Regions from separate parts of the Homo sapiens genome. Here region 1 is linked to region 2. Evidence: promoter capture Hi-C in human tissues and cell types (Jung and others, 2019). All regions are on one chromosome and are shown on one strand. The core of a region is centred on a gene start or on the middle of the fragment in contact, and the rest is flanking DNA. Distances in the headings are between cores, read along the strand shown.

Region 1 (2,700 bases), core at 91-2,590, 170 kb after region 2:
ACATGTGGGCTCAGATGCGTGGACATGTGGTTTGTGGTTTATGGATCCATGTGCGTCTACAGACACAGAGACCCAGAGACAAAGACAGACAACGTGAATACACCGGCTGCAGCTAGGCGGGTGTGTGGACATGTGGGTACACGCACATACGTCCACATGGGTATATGGACACGAATGTGTGGCCACCGGATCCAGACCCAGGACACAAAAGGGGCCAAGCCCACAGGGGTATGGTGTTGGGCACACATAGACCCCCAGGTGAGGCACACAGACAGGCGGACACATCCACAGCCAGCTGGAAGCAGACCGAGAAATTTCCACAGATGGAAATGGTCAGAGAATTAATGACAATCGCAGTAACAGTAATAAGAGTACCAGAGAAGGCCAGGCGCAGTGGCTCACACCTGTAATCCCAGCACTTTGGGAGGCTGAGGCGGGTGGATCTCCTGAGGTCGGGAGTTTGAGACCAGCCTGACAAACATAGAGAAGCCCCATCTCTACTAAAAATACAAAATTGGCCAGGCGTGGTGGCGCATGCCTGTAATCCCAGCTACTCGGGAGGCTGAGGCAGGAGAATCACTTGAACCCGGGAGGCAGAGGTTGCGGTGAGCAGAGATCATGCCATTGCACTCCAGCCTGGGCAACGAGAGTGAAACTCCGTCTCAAAAATAAAAAAGTACAGAGAAAATGCATGCGTGTGTGCACAGGGGTGTGCATGGCAGTGTTGGGGTGTCAGTTCCGACGGGTGGAGCTGGCATCGTCTGGTACTACACATGCCATAGCATACTTCGTCCCCTATGAAGAGACTGCCCTTATTTTGTAGATGAAGACACTGAGGTTCAGAGAGGTGAATTCACTTGCCCAAGGCTGGGAGCAGCAACCAGTCAAGCCAGCTGCTCTCAGCCTGTGCCCTGTCCTACACACACACACACACACACACACACACACACACACAGACACACAGTGACCCACAATGACACAGGGGAGCCCCCCTCACCTCCACCTGCTCTCAGCCCCCCGGTCCCACTCACAGGCAGGCGGGTGACCATCTCTCCTAGACGCCAGTGCAGCTGCAGGAGGAACCAGCCTTGGACGGCCAGCCCGGCCCCCATCAGCAACAGCAAGAGACCCAGACCCACCCGGGCCACACTGCACGACTGTCTCCGGTGGCTTCGTCCCAGCCTCGTGAATGGGATGTCGGTCTGTCCATCCACCACAAACACTGAGGGCCGTACGACACTCTCCTCCATGCCCAAGGTGTCTGGAGCAGGGCTGACACGCCTGGGTCCTTCAACCTCAGAGGAAACCGAAATTGCTCAACACTCCTGGGCTGTGCACGCTGCGGACAGGCACCCGTGGGCCGCCTTTAGAGCTGGGGTTCAGCCCCACCCCTTCCCCCACTCACCCTCCTCTTCTTCCGGTACCCGCCGCCCCCGGTCTTGGCCCTGTCTCACTCTCACTCATACAGACTCTCACACTTTCCAGAGGCTTCTGAAAATGTGACTCAGGTGGCAAGTGCAGTGGGGAGCCCCCAGCTTTCCCTTCTTGGATGCTTCATTCGCTTGGGGCCACCAAATATCGACTGAGGACTTTCTGCCCATGCCAGGCTCTGCTCTCGGTGTGGGGGATGCAGCAATGAACAACAGCAAGAAGGGTCCCTGCTCCTCTTCTGGTGGAGCCAGAGAGACAAGAAACCTCGTAAACAAGAAAATAATACGTTGTGGGTTTTTTTGTTCGTTTATTTGTTTTGTTTTTGAGATGGAGTCTCGCTCTGTTGCCCAGGCTGGAGTGCAGTGGCGCGATCTCAGCTTACTACAACCTCCACCTCCTGGGTTCAAGCAATTCTCCTGCCTCAGCCTCCCAAGTAGCGGGGATTACAGGCGCGTGCCACCACGCCTGGCTGCTTTTTGTATTTTTAGTAGAGATGGGTTTTCACCATGTCGGTCAGGCTGGTCTCGAACTCCTGACCTCAAGCGATCCACCCACCTCAGCCTCCCAAAGTGCTGGGATTACAAACGTGAGCCGCACCATGCCCGGCCTTCTGTTGTGTTTTGATGTGACAAGTGCAGTGAAAAACACAAGAGTGGAATAAAGGAGTGGATGTGTGCTCTGTGTGTGTGCTTGTCTGCATGCATATATGTGTGCAGTGTGTGCATGTGAATGTGTGTATTCAGTTGTGTGCATGCAAGTGTGTATCATGTACACATGTGCAGGCGCATGCCTGTGTATCATACATGTGCTGGCATGTAAATGTGCGTGCATATGTGGGCAGGTGCATGCATATGTGTATGGTCATCTGTGTGCATGTGCATGTGGTCCATGTACATGCATGCATGTGCACGTGTGTGTATGTGTGAACATGCATCACATGTGCAAGTGGGTGTGCATATATGTGCTGTGTGCAGGTGTGTGCATGTGTGTGTGCCTGTGCATTGGTGCGTGTATGTGTGTGTGCGCACTTGCACGGGTGTGTTCATGTGTGTGGGGAGGTCCATGTATGAGTGTGCATGCATTCAAGCGTGGATTTTTTTTTTTTTCGAGACGGAGTCTCGCTCTGTCGCCCAGGCTGGAGTGCAGTGGTGCGATCTCGGCTCACTGCAAGCTCCGCCTCCCAGGTTCACGCCATTCTCCTGCCTCAGCCTCCTGAGTAGCTGGGACTACAGGCGCCCACCACCGCACCCAGCTAATTTTTTGTATTTT
Region 2 (2,700 bases), core at 55-2,554:
TTGGGATGTGCACCCAGGCAGTCTGGTTCCGGTTCAGACCGTTGAATTAAAATGCCACCTCCTCCAGGAAGACTTCCCTGAATCCTTCTCTGTATCCGCCCTCCTCAGGGCTCTCACAGTGGCCTGAGCATCCCCTCATCACAGCCCTGGATGCAGGGCTGGTGCCTGGTGCCCTGTCCACCCCATCTCTGGTCTGTGGGCCCCGGTGGTGGCTGTTGACTCTGTGGTGTTAGCAGGAATAAGGAGGTTTTCCAGCCTCTGGCTCCCTGCTGGGGGACTCACCAAACACGAAGTTGTCCGGCCGAAAGATCTGACCGAAGGGGCCAGAACGGACAGAGTCCATGGTGCCGGGTTCCAGGTCCACCAGCACCGCTCTGGGGACATAATTTCCTCCTGCAGGGAAACAGATGGAGGGCAGTTCGATGCGTGCCAGGAACCACAGGCGCCCGGTAGCATCCTGTTCCCTCCCAGCTGCCCCTTCCCACCTGGAAGGTGCCTCCTTCGCCCTACCTGTGGCCTCGTTGTAGTACACGTTGATCCTCTCCAGTTGCAGGTCACTGTCCCCATGGTATGTGCCTGTGGGGTCGATGCCATGTTCGTCACTGATAACCTCCCAAAACTAGAGAGAGAGGTGGTCGGAAGAGTTGAGAGAGGGGAAGCCGGTGGCCAAGCCGAGGACTGCCCCCAGCCCCCAACTAGCTCCCTAGCTGCCACCTCTCCCCCAGCAAGGTGAACGGGGGACCTAGAGGCATGGTGTCGGGGCGAGGATGAGGCAGCAAGAAGGAGCGGTGGGGGCGGGGTGCAGCCGAGTCAGCACCCAGCGGGGCCGGCTGGTGCCAGCGCACCCAGGCTGCAGCCCGGGGGAGGCACCGGGGCTCTTTGTGCGTGAGGAGGGGACAGTGGCCCAGCTGTGGGCCCAGCTGTGACAGGCGGACAGAAGGCTGGCTCCCACTCTCCGCAGCCTCTTTGTTCCCAGTCTGGCCCTGCCACCCCCACCCCGCGACCCTTCCCCCAAGGCCCCTGGGGCGCGCTGGCCTCCTGGGGACCTCATTCCTTTCCAAAGACTCCCAGGTTGCGGGGTGCTCCGGGGACCGACCCCGCGGTGCTCCCCGGGGCCGCCACTGCCTCCCCGGGCCCCGTTCCCCGAGCACCTTGGCCCCGATCTGGTTGCCGCACTGGCCGGCCTGCAGGTGCACGATCTCCCGCATGGCGGTGGCGCTGAGGGTGGACGCGGCGGCGGTGGCACGAGCGCGGGGAGCTGCGGCGGCGGCGAGGGTGGAAGATGCGGCGGAGACGGCGGAGCACGGTCCCTGCGCCCCCGGGAGCCGCTATATGAGCGGGCGGGGCACGCGTCACGGCCGGTCACCCTCCCGCTCCGCCCCTTGGTCCCGCCCCGGGATGATGGAGGGGGCTGGGGTGGGGGGAGGTGGTGCAGGGACCTCCCTCCCCAGGGGGCCTCCCAGAGAAGTCCGGGACGCCACGTGCTCCGACCCCTGCCTTGGGGGTGAGGCCCCTTAGGGAGCCACCAGTGCAGTCTCCCCCGTCCCAGCCCCCAGCCAGGCTTGGCCACCCGCAGAAATTGGGCGGAGGAAGGGAGGGGAGCGCCTGGTAAACAGGCATCTGAGAAGTCCTGCCCCTCCCCCTTAGCCTCCACCCTCCCGCCCCAGGCCTTGCCTCAGTTTCTCGGTCCGCAGCCCCCCTTCTCATTCTATTTAGACCTCATTCGCCAGAATCCTTGCAGTAACCGCGAGCCCTCCCAGTGGGCTGGGGGCTCCGGAGCGGCGATCTGGTTTGCGGGTGGGGGGCGGTAGGTTCCTGGAGGGCTTGTCCTGAAGCTGCATAGTAAAACCACGATTTTCCTCCCATGATTGGGTGCAGATGCTGGTGGGCTCCCCTGGTACACCTCTACTGGGCATTGAGCTCGTCCCAGGTGGGGTCACCCCCAGCCTGGCCTAAGGAGGAGAGTGGAGGAGTAAGACAGCTGGGTTCATATTGGGAGGGGGACAGTGAGTCCCCAGGGCTGCCTCGCTTTCCCAAAATAACACCCCTCCTCTCCAGTATTGTAATTTATCTTTATCTATATCTATACCCTTTTTTTTTTTTTTTTGAGACAGAGTTTCGCTCTTGGCGCCCAGGCTGGAGTGCAATGGCCCAATCTCGGCTCACTACAACCTCAGCCTCCCAGGTCCAAGCGATTCTCCTGCCTCAGCCTCCCGAGTAGCTGGGATTACAGGCATGTGCCACCACGCCCGGCTAATTTTTTTGTATTTTTAGTAGAGACAAAGTTTCTCCATGTTGTTCAGGCTGGTCTCAGACTCCTGACCTCAGGCCATCTGCCCACCTCTGCCTCCCAAAGTGCTGGGATTACAGGCGTGAGCCAACGCGCCCGGCCTATATATATATATTTTCGGACAGGGTCTTGCTCTGTCCCTCAGGCTGTAGTGCAGTGGCATGCTCATAGCTCACTGCAGCCTCAATGTCCTGGGCTCAAGCAATCCTCTCACCTCAGCCTCCCAAGTAGCTGGGACTGCAGGTGCATGCCATCACGCCTGGCTAATTTTCAAGATTTTTTGTAGAGATGGGGTCTCGCTATGTTGTCCAGGCTGCTCTCCAACTCCTGAGCTCAAGAGATCCTCCTGCCTCAGCCTCCCAAAGTGCTGGGATTCCAGGCATGAGCCACTGCGCCCAGCTCAGTATTAT

The links. Contacts are between HindIII fragments. The study calls those that stand out against the background at their distance.
Region 1: the fragment with the promoter of TNFSF14 here is called in contact with the fragment with the promoter of TUBB4A in region 2 in 2 of the 25 tissues and cell types used here (spleen and stomach).

What each region holds. Positions count from the first base shown.
Region 1 is chr19:6,668,820-6,671,519 of GRCh38, forward strand. TNFSF14 (TNF superfamily member 14) reads right to left here and starts at 1,341. Exons shown (of 4, transcript NM_001376887.1): 1 at 1,032-1,341. The coding sequence starts at 1,250. RefSeq lists enhancers at 11-200, 1,101-1,190, 1,571-1,800 and a silencer at 2,371-2,470. The HindIII fragment of the contact is 26,746 bases long and covers 1-2,700 here.
Region 2 is chr19:6,501,005-6,503,704 of GRCh38, forward strand. It overlaps TUBB4A (tubulin beta 4A class IVa), which reads right to left and starts at 1,305. Exons shown (of 4, transcript NM_006087.4): 1 at 1,152-1,305; 2 at 511-619; 3 at 283-393. The coding sequence starts at 1,208. RefSeq lists silencers at 822-931, 1,102-1,281, 1,292-1,561. The HindIII fragment of the contact is 15,381 bases long and covers 1-2,700 here.